Linked DNA regions of Homo sapiens: region 2 is linked to region 1. Evidence: promoter capture Hi-C in 16 types of primary human blood cells and fetal thymus (Javierre and others, 2016). All regions are on one chromosome and are shown on one strand. Each heading gives the region's core, a stretch centred on a gene start or on the middle of the fragment in contact. The rest is flanking DNA. Distances are from core to core; before and after follow the strand shown. Region 1 holds the start of SRSF7 (serine and arginine rich splicing factor 7). Region 2 has its middle 45 kb from the start of QPCT.

What was found. Contacts are between HindIII fragments. The CHiCAGO score rates a contact against its expected background, and 5 or more counts as called.
Region 2: a contact is called between a fragment that was not itself captured here and the fragment with the promoter of SRSF7 in region 1, in 1 of 17 cell types (activated CD4 T cells). The highest score is 5.1, in activated CD4 T cells.

The regions. Positions count from the first base shown.
Region 1 is chr2:38,746,911-38,754,185 of GRCh38, forward strand. It overlaps SRSF7 (serine and arginine rich splicing factor 7), which reads right to left and starts at 4,451. Exons shown (of 8, transcript NM_001031684.3): 1 at 4,319-4,451; 2 at 3,104-3,284; 3 at 2,619-2,795; 4 at 1,669-1,743; 5 at 1,137-1,247. The coding sequence starts at 4,346. RefSeq lists silencers at 3,536-3,725, 3,936-4,035 and an enhancer at 4,896-4,955. The HindIII fragment of the contact is 14,475 bases long and covers 1-7,275 here.
Region 2 is chr2:37,385,787-37,393,061 of GRCh38, forward strand. No RefSeq gene overlaps it. Among named protein-coding and RNA genes, the nearest start is that of QPCT, 45 kb to the left of the region's middle. RefSeq lists an enhancer at 4,318-4,507. The HindIII fragment of the contact is 1,011 bases long and covers 4,142-5,152 here.

The DNA of each region.
Region 1 (7,275 bases), core at 3,201-5,700:
AGACATAAGGAACCCCCATTTCAATTACTTGTTTCTATCACTCAATTGGTTAGTTTCTGTACAGGTATAACATTCTCAAACACTGTGTAATATCCAAGGGAAATACATGGTTTTCATTTGATGAGACTGGTATGAAGGAAGCAAAACTAACCTCACTTAAGGCACAGATCCCTCAGCTGGGCACTGTGGTACACAATGGCAGTCCCAGCTACTCAGGAGGCTAAGGCAGGATGAAAATAACCAGACCCCTGAACTGAGACTAATTCAGGTGATAAGGCCAGACGAAAAGAAAGCCGCCCCCCATTTGTAAGGCTTTATTCCTGGATCAAGTTATGTTTGAGAGCCATCAATCTGTCAGACAAACCAAATCAGACTGACATATCTATCTTTTAAATTTATCTAAAGAGATGGTTCATAGCTTTCTCAAATAGACCACAAGATTCAGAATTCCTGCATTTAAAGGTTTTGTGCTATTAAACAGCAATTTAACTCCCAGTAGCATTCCGTACCACGGTTTTATCGTTGGTACAGATAACAATATTGTTAATTACATGTTGCAATACTTATTTTACAATTTTTTCCATTCTATCTCCTTTTAAGGCCTTCTACAAATAGTAAAGCTCTGGTTCTTTAGTTTTTTCAGGTCTGAAACGGTCTAAAAAAAAAAATCCACATTCATTTCTGTGTACACACTACTGCCCTAGTCAACTTTCCAGTGTCTCAAATCAACCCCATCATTCCAAAAATGAGAAATGTTTCTACTTGCTTCTGATCTCTTTTCCTGGTGCTAATAGGCCTTTTTGTCGGGAAAATCAATTACCATCTTTCAGAGCTAGTATCATCCAATCTGAAGCCAGAAAAGTTTATAGCAACATGCCTACCCAGAGTGTTGAGTAGAACTGTATTGCTTGGGACCCTTGTCTACCACACGGCCTAACAAGCCTTAAAATCTCTAGTAGCCCTTTTCTTCATCTGTAAAACTAGGTTAATATTTATGTTACAAGTTACACATAAATTCCAAACTTTTACATCTCAAATATTCCCTGAAGCAATCCATTTGAATTATGTCCTTAAGACACTCTACTGATAAGATGTGAACAATCCAAACACAAGTAAGGAAAAAAAGTGTTACATACTGGAAATACCTCGATCCTTTTATAGAACCAGACCTAGATCTTCTGAGTGAAGCTGATCTTGATCTACGAAGAGAGATAGATCTTGATCGTCGAGGAGATGCTGACCTTGACCTAAAATAAAGAACTTTAAGTCCATCTCCACAGTTTTTTTTTTTTTTGGCCTGTTAAGACTTCAACTGGGGAACGGTGCAGTGGCTCATGCCCATAATCCCAGCACTGCGGGAGGATCGTTTGAGCCCAGGAGCTTGAGACCAGCCTGGGAAACAGTGCAAGACCATTTCTACAAAAATAAAAATTAGCTGGGTATGGTGGCAGTGCCTACAGTCCCAGCTACTCGGGAGGCTGAGGTAGGAGAACTGCTTAAACCCAAGAGATCATCAAGGCAGCAGTGAGTCGTGGTTATGCCCCTGTACTCCAGCCCGGGTGACAGAGCAAGACCCTGTCTCCAAAAAAAATAATGAGCTTTTTCTGTGTTGGACTACCAGTGAATTTAATAATAATACAGAAAGACTTCAGTTAAACAAGATCTCACCTTCGTCCCCTGCTCCTGCTGCGTGAGCGAGAGTATCGCCTTCCTCTGGATCGAGAATGTGATCTAGACCGTGACCTATTTTTCAAGTTAGAGAAAAAACAAAATGTCAGACAATAACTCGTTTTTAAGAGTTTGTGTGCCTCTGCTGAAATCAAATCTCAAAACTATTTAAATTTAGTGTCTCATTTGGAAATAAACTCTGGGCCTATTAGTTGTTGAGTATTTTTTTTTTTACTACCTAAAAAAAGATTTGTTAAAAGCTGAATTACAACTTAGCATTACATAATATAAAACACTGTAATGTGTATTTAAAATAAACCTTGCAAGTTTGCAGGTCGACCCTCTTTGGCCCATGGTCTAGTAGATCTAGACGATCTAGAAGTATCTATAGCCGATCGCTGCATCTAGATGTTTTCTTCAATCTAACGACGATCAAACTGACAGCCAAATGAGCCAGGTGAGGCTTGATTGACGCAAGAAGATTTTTCTAGTTGGGAATGTGGTCAATCTGGTGTTCCTCTTTCTAAACCGGAGGGGGGCCCCAATTGTAAGCCAAATTTACTGTTACGGCGATCACCGTCTCAAATTTTCTGCCCTTTAAAGAATAAGGTGAAGCTAGGTGTAGATGACTCGAGGGGATCTGGCCTCTTATGCTGATCACCTCAAGGTCTAGGAGGATCTTAATTGTCGGATTTGCAAGGCGCCTCAGCATGATATCATAAGGCTCGTGACATTCTGAATCAAGGCGACTGACTCAAACGAAGAAACCTGAAAGGTTTTGACCAGGTTGATTATTAATATAGTAACATTTTTTTAATTAAACAAAAATTGTAAAATACACCTGTACAATTAACATTCAAGTTTATAGAAAAACACTAGTTTCTGCCTTGCTAATAAAAGAATTACTTGATTAACTAGAATACCAACCATTCCTTTATTAAAATAAATACCTGCTTCTTCTTCGCCGGCTGTAACGATGACAATCATAAGCATAATGTCCCTTTTCGCCACACTCATAGCATCTATCATTTGGATCAAAGGGACGTCGGGCAGGTGGTCTATCAAAACGTGATCTCCGAGGCATGCCTGTCGATAGTTCAACCCTCACTCGGGAGCCACAAATCACCCTAATAAAAGCAAATTAACAAAATTCTAAAGTTAAAAATATATTCAGGACTTATAGATTTAAAAAGAACTCTTTCCAACCACTCACTCTTTCCAACCACTCCTTCCCCCCCAACAAACTTTGGCGGTCTTTACCAAGCCCTAACTCCATCTCCGCTATCTTCTTTAACCTTCGTGTGCCTTTAGCATTTAACACTATGACCAGCTATTTAAGGTCTCTTCCAGACTTCAGAATCCAAATTTAGCACTAAGTTCATTATCTAGCCACAGTATATTTTAATGAACAGAAGATTCATAACATCTTACTTACTTTCCATCCAGTCCTCGTACTGCATCTTCTGCATCTCTAGGATCTTCGAATTCCACAAAGGCAAATCCTGGAGGATTTCTCGCAATCCATACAGTTCTTAAAGGACCATAATAACTGAAAGCCCTTTCTAACTCTCCTTTGCCAGCGCCAGTTCCCAGGTTACCAACATACACCTTGGTTTCTGTTTAAAAACGCAAATAGAAGAATGCACGTTACGCAAAATCTGGCCCAAGTTTCAATTACTTATTTGCCTTAAAACGGGCCATCCTCAAGATTGGGTAAAGCACATTTAATGCCCTCTATCCAAGACAAAACTTAGTCGTAAAACTGGTGAAAGTCCGCAAATCCCTGAGAAACTAGACTTTTGACAAAATTCTTAACGTTCTAAATAATGCGGGGTGACCCTCCCGAACACAAGCAGAAACGCGTGGTAGGATACACCGAGGCGTGGGGCGGAACCTGGCCCGGCCCCACCCATGAGTCCCGGCAGCCCCGGGCGCACCGGGAGCGCGCGGGCCCGCAGCGGCAGCGGCGTCGGCGGCGGGAGGGCCTCGGTAGGGGCCGGGCCAGGAGAGCAGGGCTGCGCCGGCTCTCGTCCTCCGCGGCAAACGTCCCAGGCACAGGCTCGCCCAAGACTCCAGCTCCCCGCCCCAGAGCCATAAACCGCGCTGGAAATAACTAAAAAAAACCCAGCCGCCAGTCGCAGATTACGTCCCCATTCCCATTCCGCAATTTAACCGATTGTTTGACGAGAACATGCAGCTCACAGCTGCCAATTTCGTTCTATCTCAAACACAACCACGATCTTACAGCTGCGGCCAGATCTGTCCGCTGAAGTGGCGGGAAAGCGCTGAGGAAATGCGCCACCACGGTCCTCAATGTGCGCAAAATGGCAGCCGCCGCCGAGGGCGGGGGGGGAGGGGGGCCGGCGGGCAGCTCCGAGAAAGGCAACGCGAAAACCGTCATCTCAACCCTGCTTTAGGCTGGATTGGGCCACAAAAATGCCCAAGAGTACGGAACTCGGCAGAGATGTACACCCGCCATCCCGTCTCCCTTCAGCACCCCGCCTCCGCTGCCTCCGGCTTCGTCTGGCGTGCTCCTAAGCCGCCATTACGCACGCGGAATAACCGTCTCCCAACCTCCGCGACAACCCTACGGCCTCGCAGTGCTCACTACACCCACACCAACGTCCCTCACCGGACTCCAGCTTCTTACCTCCTCCGTACCGCCCGTAACGCGACATGATGACAGACCCGCGTGCTCGGCTCTTTAGCAAGCAGCGCCCAGGGCTCGAGTGACGCAAAAGCTGACACACACCTTCACCCGCCAAGAGTCCCGGCGGCACTACGAGGAAGAGCCCGGGTTCGCGTTTATATATGCGGCCGCTGCGCTTTGCGCATGCGTCATCTCGTTGTTCTGCGCGGCACAAAGGAGCTGGGCGGAAACAGCCAAGAAACGACGCGGAAGGAACTGAAGAGACTAACACGCGGGTCATGGGCGGAGGGATACGTTTCTATGGGAACGCCACGATCTCTCCAGTAAACCTGAGGCCTTCCCCATGCTGTCCCGCCCCCTCCTCTCCCCGTTTTCTACACCCTCCTTGTCTTCTTTCCCGTCTCCCTACCCTCTGCCTCCTTTCGTTTTTCCCCAGGCTAGGGACCCTCAGCCTTAACAATCTTAGTACGGATGCATTAGACCGGCCTATGAAAGGCTGTACAATTTAACCGCTGATGTTGCAGCCGTCGCGCCCTTCTGCTGGGGGACCTGGCCTAGTCAGCTACTCTGATCTTTGGGGCTCATCAGAGGTAATCGAAGGTTTGGCCATGGTGAAAAGTCCATGAACCCCGCCATTCTGAGTAGTGGTTTTTACACCATAGACCTTGACGCACCCTGGGACTGGTGGTAAAGCCTCCTGTCCTACACGCCCCCTCCAACTTCTTTTGAACCAGTCACCAGTTTGCACCACCACGGTCTGAGTTCTTGGAGTCTGAAAGACAAAGGAATAGAGCTGTGGGGTCCCGCTCCCCCCTCCCCCCTTTATATTGAAATTGTGACAAAACCCTGAATGTTTAAAGCATTTTGGCCAGTGACAATTTGGAAATTATTTGCATCTGAAGCTCAAAGTAACTGATTTGCTTTTCCTAATGCTTTCTGCTTTGTAACACGTGTGATCCACCAATACTCCGATCCTGAGGACTGGGACTCCTAAGTCATCTTTGTGTATCTCCACTCAGTGGAAATAGCAGCCTTGCTGCTCAGCCACTCAACAGTACCAAATAAATGCAAAACTTCTTTACATTAGAATTGCTCTAGACACCAACTACAAATAGAGAAAAAGTTCTTTTTTGCTAGAAACATAGACATTACATCGTAAATTCTTGGAATACACAAAAGTTGGAAATGTACATAAAAAAAGACATTTAGGTATTTGCATTTTTATCTTTTTCGTCTTTTGCAACTTCATTTGGTGAGTATAGGTGTGGAATGGAGAGTACAGGGAAAGCAGGCCTAGTTGGTGAATAAAGCATGGATTCTTTCCAGGTCATGCTATGATTTTATGCATATTTTTTACGTTGATTAAGTTATGGAGAGAATTAATCTCTCTCAGGAAGATCTCTAAGAAGAAAATAGAAGCTCTGTAGAGTATATGTGTTCTCCCTTAGTCTTGGTGATTTTTTTCTTAACAAGGTTCTTCTCAAAAGAAACAATAATTATAAAGATCTATAGGTTCTTCTCAAAAGAATTAAACAATAATTATAAAGACTATATAGGGGCCAGGCGCAGTGGCTCACGCCTGTAATGCCAGCACTTTGGGAGGCCGAGGCGGGCGGATTGCCTGAGCTCAGGAGTTTGAGACCAGCCTGGGCAACACAGTAAAACCCTGTCCCTACTAAAATACAAAAAATTAGCCTGGCGTGGTGGCGTGTGCCTGTAGTCCCAGCTACTCCGGAGGCTGAGGCAGGAGAACTGCTTGAACCCAGGAGGCGGAGGTTGCAGTGAGCTGAGATCGTGCCACTGCACTCCAGCCTGGGCGACAGAGCAAGACTCCATCTCAAAAAAAAAGATTATATGGTATCTGAAAGATAAAATATAAATTCTGTAAAGCCTCACTAAGTTGACTTTCTTCTGTTAAGAAGCTATGAAAATTACTGTTGAGGCCGCGCGCAGTGGCTCATGCCTGTAATCCCAGCACTTTGGGAGGCTGAAGCTGGCGGATCACCTGAGGTCAGGAGTTCGAGACCAGCCTGACCAACATGGAGGAACCCCGTCTCTACTAAAAATACAAAATTAGCTGGGCGTGGTGGCGCATGCCTGTAATCCCAGCTACTCGGGAGGCTGAGGCAGGAGAATCGCTTGAACCTGAGAGGTGGAGGTTGTGGTGAGCTGAGATCTTGCCATTGCACTACAGCCTGAGCAACAAGAGCAAAACTCCTAGGCCGGGCGCTGTGACTCACATCTGTAATCCCAGCACTCTGGGAGGCCGAGGCGGGCGGATCACCTAAGGTCAGAAGTTCAAGACCAGCCTGGCCATGGTGAAACCCCCGTCTCTACTAAAAATACAAAAAATTAGCCAGGCGTGGTGGTGCGCACCTGTAATCCCAGCTACTTGGGAGGCTGAGGCAGGAGAATTGCTTGAACCCGGGAGGTGGAGGTTGCAGGGAGCCGAGATTGCGCCATTGCACTCCAGCCTGGGCAACAAGAGTGAAACTCCATCTCCAAAACAAAAGAGCAAAACTCCGACTCAAAAAAAAAGAAAATTACTGTTGAGCCAAGCATAGATAACTGCTTGAAAGACAGTGCATGTTATACTGTATAATTCCTAATAAACCTCAATAAACTTTTTTTTTTCCAATAAACTTTTTTTGACTCTGAATACAAAGTCTAAGTCAGGTTTTGTGGCTCATGCCGGTAATCTCTGCACTTTGGGAGGTTGAGGTGGGAGGATATCTTGAGGCCAGGACTTTGAGACCAGCCTGGGCAACAGAACCAGACCCCCATCTCTACCAACAAAACAAAACAAAGTCTATAGTTGTACTAAAGAAATTTCTAAGCAAGTAATAGTAAACAGAAGCAGTTTTAAAATTTATAACCAATTGCTTTCAAATCCTGATTCACAGACATGCTTGTCTTGCAGACAGGTGTTCAATAAGCTAATTACATACTGTTTATTC
Region 2 (7,275 bases), core at 3,397-5,896, 1.4 Mb before region 1:
AGCCATCCTGGGTCGCATGCCACCGGTGGGCTGCGGGTTGGACAAGCTTGATTTACTCTATGGTTTTCACCCTCAGCTTTAGATTCTCCTTGGGGCTGCACTGCACGGACGGTCCCTGTCCACGTTTTTGCCTCTTTCCCAGTGGTAGAATGTACTCCAACAGTTTTCAACGTTTTTGTATTTTAAGTAGTAAAGTCCTTTCTTTGAAGGATATCTCACACGAAAACCCCAAAGATAAAAGCAGTGCAGATCTGGTTGAAGGTAGGAGAGTGGCCTAGAACTTTATTGGTGAAACCTTATCCAAACCCCCCAGCACACTCACCCTGACGCACTGCAGCCGGGACTCTTCAGCACCTCCCTGTAAGCTGGTGCTCTGCAGACCTTAGCTTGGAGCTCCGATCTAATCTCCAGTCTCTTTTTACTCAGTTCTCAGAGGCAATGACTTGGTGGATCAGTCAATCCTTGGGTTCTAGGTTACCACTTTCACCTGGTTCTCCTACCTTTCTAGTCTCTCCTTCTGTCTCCCTTGCTGTGTCTTTTTTTGTCTTTCTGACTCTTAAAAATCAGAATATTCTGGAGCTTAGTTCTTGGACCTCTTCTCCAGCTATACTCACTCCCCAGCTGATCACATCTAGCCCCATGGTTTGAAGATTATGTGTAGATAACTTCCAAATTAGTATCTCCAGTCTCAATCTCTCCCAAAACTCCAAACATCTCCACTGGGGTGTCCCAAAGACACTTCAAATGAGGAAATGCAAAACTGAACTCACAGTTCCGTGCATCCTCCCGAACCTTCTTCTTCCTACATTAGTACATGGACACTTTTTAAGCCAGGTACTGACTCTTCTTTCTCAGCTCTGGACATTATCAAGTTCTATAGGCTCTCCTTTGTACCCCAGGTCTGTCCCCTTTGAGCAGTGCTCCCCCTCTGGGTCAAGTCACCATCATCTCTTCCTGGGTCCCCCTGCTCCACCTTGCTTCTGTAGTCTCCTATCACAGGGACTAGAACGATCCTTTTAAATTGGAATCAGGGGCTGGGTGTGATGGCTCATGCCTGTAATCCCAGCACTTTGGGATGCATAGGTGGGCTGATCACCTGAGGTCAGGAGTTGGAGACCAGCCTGGCCAACATGGCAAAACCCGTCTCTACTAAAAATGCAAAAATTAGCTGGGCATGGTTGTTCCACCTGTAATTCCAGCTACTCAGGAGGCTGAGGCAGGAGAATTACTTGAACCCAGGAGGCAGAGGTTGCAGTGAGCTGAGATCACACCACTGCACTTCAGCCTGGGCAACACAGTGAAATTCTGTCTCAAAAAAAAAAAAATTGCAATCAGGTCATATTACAGCTCTGAAATGGCTTTTCCTTTCTCTCAGAATAGGATCCAGTGTCATTTCTATGGCTGACAAGGTTCCATATGACCAGGCTCCTCCATCTTTCTGGTCCCTCCTCCTATGGCTCTCTTCCTACATCACCTCTCCTGGCCACACTGGCCTCCTGGCTTTTCCCAAACAAGCTGAGCACAGTCCTGAATCACTGCCTTTCTATGTGCTTGCTCCTCTGCCTGGAATGCTTTCCCCTAGATATTTGCGTCGGATGTGCCCACATTTCATCTGAGGTTTTGCTCAACTAATACTTAATTGGAGGGGCCTTCCCTGATCCCCTTCATCCTGTCCCCTGGACTTGCCCATTTTCCATCCTGGAGAGGTCTTAGTGACAACTTACGCTGTAAAGCCACCACCATCAATCACTTCATCCCCTAACGCTACACATTGCTTCTTCTTTCCCCAGAGATGAGGGTTAGACTTATGTTTGGTAGGAGCTGCAGCAGCTGCAACACTGAGGTCTGACTCAACTGAATCCAGGGAAGCTCTGGCTTCCCCAGCAGCTGCCCTGGGGGCCAGTGACACAACCCAGAAATACATACAGTTAATGTCCTGCACAGTAGACAAATCAATGGAAAGCAGGAGATAGGAAGAGACCGAGGGTTAATTGCTTACCCTTCCTCCCTCCAGTGGATTGTTTTGACATGCAGTGATTTTATTTGACCTCTCTGGAAGAGATGGAGATGGAGAAACAAGCTGTATTTGTGGCAAAGCTGGCCATCTTGGTAACACATCCCTTGTATTTGCCATTCTTCCTTTCCTGTCTCACTTCCTACTTTCCTTCACTTTTACTCCCCCTAAATTGCACCTTCTCTCATAAAGTCTAAGCCATGAGCTTTTGTTTCAGGCTCTGATTTCTAGGGGACTGTTATCTGTTTATTTGTGTGTTATCTCTCTCTCCTCTCTAGAATGTGAGCCCAGAAGAAGAGTAGGGAGTTTGTTTCGTTTACTGCTGTATCCTCAATGACCGGCCTAGTACTTGGAACATGGTAGATGCATGTTAAATACTTGTTGAATGAACTTCATGATGAGGAAACTTGTCTTTCCTAATCCTGGACCTTAAGCCAGGATGATTCACTGAAGCCAGGATGGTTCACTTGTAAGTCACCTGGTAAGTCCCACTCATCTGTGGCAATCCTTTGGTACCTCTTGCTTTGAATCTGCTCTTGATCTTGCTTCTGCTTCCTCCTCTCTCACCTGTGATATGCAACAGCCTCCCAATTGGACTCCCTGCAGCATTCCACCCTGCTTCATTCTAGACTTCATGCAACAGTCAGAGAAATGTTTTAAACACATTAATCAGGTCTCATTGCTATGCTGCATAAAACCCTGTGATGGTTTTTCACTGCACTGAGAATTAATATGAACTCCTTAACTATGGCTTACTATGGCCTACAAGGCCCTCCCCACTCAGAAACTCAACAATCTTTTTTTTTTTTTTTTTTTTTGAGACAGAGTCTCACTCTGTTGCCCAGGCTGGAGTGCAGTGGTGCAATCTCGGCTCACTTCAACCTCCACCACCTGGGTTCAAGCAATTCTCCTGTCTCAGCCTCCTGAATAGCTGGGATTACAGGCGCCCAACATCATGCCGGGCTAATTTTTTTTTTTGTATTTTTTGTAGAGACAGGGTTTCACCATGTTGGGCAGGCTGGTCTCAAACTCCTGACCTCAGGTGATCCACCTGCTTCAGCCTCCCAGAGTGCTGGGATTCTAGGCGTGAGCCACCGTGCCTGGCCCAGAAACTCAACATTCTACCACTCTTTCCCTCCCTCTCTGGCCTAAAATGCCATTGCCCTCTTTTGTTCCTTGAACTTACTAAGCAGTCCCCTGCCATAGGGAGGCTTCTGGACATCCTTATCCTCCACATGGGATTCTCCTTTAGTCCCGATTTACATTGCTGTCTCTTTCTTGGCCTTCTCACAGAGGCTGTTCCTCACATCCTCTTATCCAGAATAGGTCCTTCCCTGTATATTTCTATCTCAGCACTCTACTCATTTCTTTCTTTTTTCTTATCACAACTTGTCATTACAATATTGTTTTACTATGGGTGGGGGGCAGCCTGTTTTCATGATCAAATTGTAGGTTTCATGAGGGCAAGGACTATGTCTATGTTTTTCATCATTGTATTCCCAGCAACTTGGAGATATTTGTGTGTGTCAGAGGTTTAATACATACTTGGTGATTAAACAAATATTCAAGAACTGATCCAGCTTCTATTTCTCTGGCTTCAGGACTTGCCTCAAATGTCCCTTTATCACAGGCCTTCTCCAACTACCCTATATAAAATGTAACAGTGTATCTCCTGGCTTTTACTCTTGATTGTGGTGAGAGATTTGGTATCCTTGGTCTGGGCCTTTTGTGTTCTCTAAGAACCTGGTTTGCCCTCTGCCTCTTGGCTCTACTGGCTGCCATGAGCATCTACACCTCCCAGCTCCAGCTCTCAGGGCCCCTGTCCTCATTCAAGGCCTGCCCTGCTTCATCCTGGAGGAGATGGGGCAAACTCAGATACAGAGAGCTTTAGCAACTTGTTCAAGTTTATACAATAATGAAGATTGGGCCAGAAGTCAGGTTTTGGGATTTGCACCCAGTCTCATGCCTTTTCACTCTATTATGCTAATCCTGTATCTCTGTTTCAAATCGAAGTGACTCATTTTGAGTTTTCAGATGAACACTCCAAGTATTATGGAGTACCTGGTTATTTGAAGTAAAAAAAAAAAACAAAAAACCAAGAATTGAAGCTTCTAGCTAGACAAACAAAGCTTGAAGCACCAGACAGCTATTGAAGACCAAATCTACCCACAGGGCTGGAATTAGGCACCGAGGGAACAGATGCAGGGAGAGATCCAAGCTCACAGCCAGGAGCCAGATGCTGGGTGTAAGCTGTCTGTGCCTGTCCTCCTTTCCCAAGGCCCGCCAAAGGGAGGCTCTGAGCTTCAGAGTGGGGATCTAGACTTCAGTTGCCAGTAGGTTCTGAAAGTGCTGCCCTCAGGGAAATGGTGACTTAGAAACAGAACTGCAACAAGTTTCAGTTGAACTCCAGGGAATTCCCTAGGTATGCCTCTTGCCTCCTCCTCATCTCTCTCCTTCAAAAGAAGGACATTTGAGGAAGTCCCAGGGAAGAGAGATGAGAAATATGGTTATGAAATAAAGAGAAATGAAGAACCACAGTATGGAGTACTTTTCTGCATTGGGTAGGATTTGTGGGTGAGACAGAGAATTGGGTGGAGGGCAGAAGGCCAGAAGGAGTAGGCAGAGGAAGGAGGGGGTGTTGAACCTCCTTCAGGCATCGAGCGAGAAACCTGACCTCGGAATAGTCACACTTGATCTCCTTTTGGCTTCTGTGTACCAGCAAAGCCTTTAGGTTTAGTCTGTTTCCTCTGTGGCAGAAAAGGAAGCCCAAGACAATTTGCATAGGCAGCTCTCAAGCAAAGCCTCCCTCAAAGAGTTTCTGACTCATCCCCATGACTTCCTCCCCCATCTGTCAACAGGGGAAACTCCAGGTGGGAGGTTACATTTCCTGCCTCCCTGTTATGGACTAGTTTCCTTCCTGGGAGGTGAGGCAGAAGTGGAGGGGACTTTCTCCCTCCTCATCATCCCATGCCTTCTCTCTTCTCCCGGTTCCTCTCTATCAAACTCTATGTTCCCATTTTGAGCTGAGAATAAGGAACAGCAGAGTTGATTAGAAACATTTTAAAATCAAGTGATTAAACTCTGATAATGGCAGAATTTCAAACATGAGTCAGTATGTAAATCCAATTGTAAAGATGAAGCTTTGAAGATATTTCTGTGTTCTCAGAACCTCAGAAGTTAATTCCTAGACATTGCTTCCTCCTAAGGGCAACTTCAGCACATGGTCCACAAGGATATAGGGCAGGATCCTCATAGAGGTAGTGGGCTACATGTCTCAAGTTGTAGGATGCTCTGGGTCCTCAAGTCTATCTATCCTCTTCCTCGAGTTCTGCACATCATCTTCTACATGCTGCTGGGCTCCTGAAAGCAGCACAACACCCTGACGGGGAGCTTGTTTGAGCATTCATTCTTTCTGTGTTTTGATAGTGTTAGGTAGGCCACCATCTGTGGGTTCTGTTTAGATCCACAGTTCTTCCTCTGGACATGGGATGTATCAAAGCAGGAAAGAGGCTGCCCATCTGAGCTTTTCATGATGTCGCGGCTGTGGCTCTGGCTGTTACCAGAGCTATACAGGAAACCCAGGGAGAGGGCTTGAAATGGTTGGGCATCAGGTATAAAGAAAAAAGCACTCAGAAGTATGGAATTTGTTTACATTGGTTCAGGGAACCAAAGAAGATTCGAGAATAGAATGTTCTGTCCTGTGTGCCCACTGAAATTAGAATTGTATGGGATTTTCCTCCAACACCCTGGTGGCTATTTTCCAGTGTCTTTTGCTGATTCCTCTTCATCTTCAGACTTGTCAAGTTTGAAAGGCTCTAAGACTCAGTTCTTGTTCCTCTTCATTTCTCCATCTCAGTCCATTGTTGACCTCATCCAGCTTCAAGTCTTTAAATACCATGTATATGTTGGCAACTCCTGGAGCTCTCAAATGTTTTCTAGACTTGTATGTACAACGGCCTACTGAACAGTTCTACTTGAAGGTCAGATTCAGCAAGTTCCCACTGAACTCCTGGTCTCCTCCCCACAAATCTGCTTCAGACATTGTTGGATGGCAGTAGCTCCAACCTTCCTGTAGCCCAAAACATAGGAGTCATTCTTTTTATTGAGACATAATCTCGCTCTGTTGCTCAGGCTGGAGTGCAGTGGTGCAATCACGGCTCACTGCAACCTCCGCTCCCTGGATTCAAGCAATTCTCCTGTCTCAGCCTCCCTAGTAGTTGGGATTACAGGGGTGTGCCACCAAGCCCGGCTAATTTTTGTATGCTTCGTAGAGACAGGGTTTTGCCATGTTGGCGAGGCTGGTATCGAACTTCTGACCTCAAGTGATCCACCCACCTCGGCCTCCCAAAGTCCTGGGATTATAGGTGTGAGCCACCATGCCTGGCCTTGGAGTCATTCTTGATTCTTCTATTTCACATCCCACACCCAGTCAGAAGGTAGCCTGGCCAGGTCTATCTTCCAAATACATCCAGAATCCAATCACCTTCTACCACCCCCATTGCTGCTGCACTGGGTCCAAGCCACCATTATCTCTTACCTTGATAACTTTAACAGCCTCTTATCAAGGCTTCCTGGTTCTACCCTTGCCCCCTTCAGTCTATTCTTCATGCAGCAGGAAGAGCGGTTCTTTAAGGAATTAGGTCCCGTCATGTCACTCCTCTACTCAAAGCCCTGCAATAATTCCTTATCTCATTCAGAATAAATGCCCTTACAGTGGTCTGATTGGTCCTCTGTGATCTGTCCTTGAGCACCATTCTGACTTCATCTTTGACTAGTCTCCTCCATTGCTCACTCTTCCTTAGCCACAGTGGCCTACTTGCTGTTTCTTGAACATGTTAGTCTTAATCCTACCTCAGGACCTTTGCACAGGCTGTTCTCTCTGCCTGGAATATTTTCTCCCCACATACCTGCATGGCTATTTTTTAAAAAAATATTATTCCATTCCTTGCTGAACTGTAATTTTTCAACGATGTCTTGCTTGATCCCTCCCCTCAGTTTAAAGTTTTAATCTTGAGATTTTTTACTCTGTTCTACTTATTTCTGTATCACCCTCTAACATATGGTAAAATTTACCTATTTAATATGTTTGCTTTTTGTCTGGGCTTGTTGGCTTATACCTGTCATCTCAGCACTTTGGGAGGCTGAGGTAGGAGGATCACTTGAGCCCAGGAGTTCAAGATCGGCCTGGGCGACATAGTGAGATCTCGTCTCTACTAAAAAAAATAAATAAATAAAATAAAATAAAATAAAATAAAGCCAGG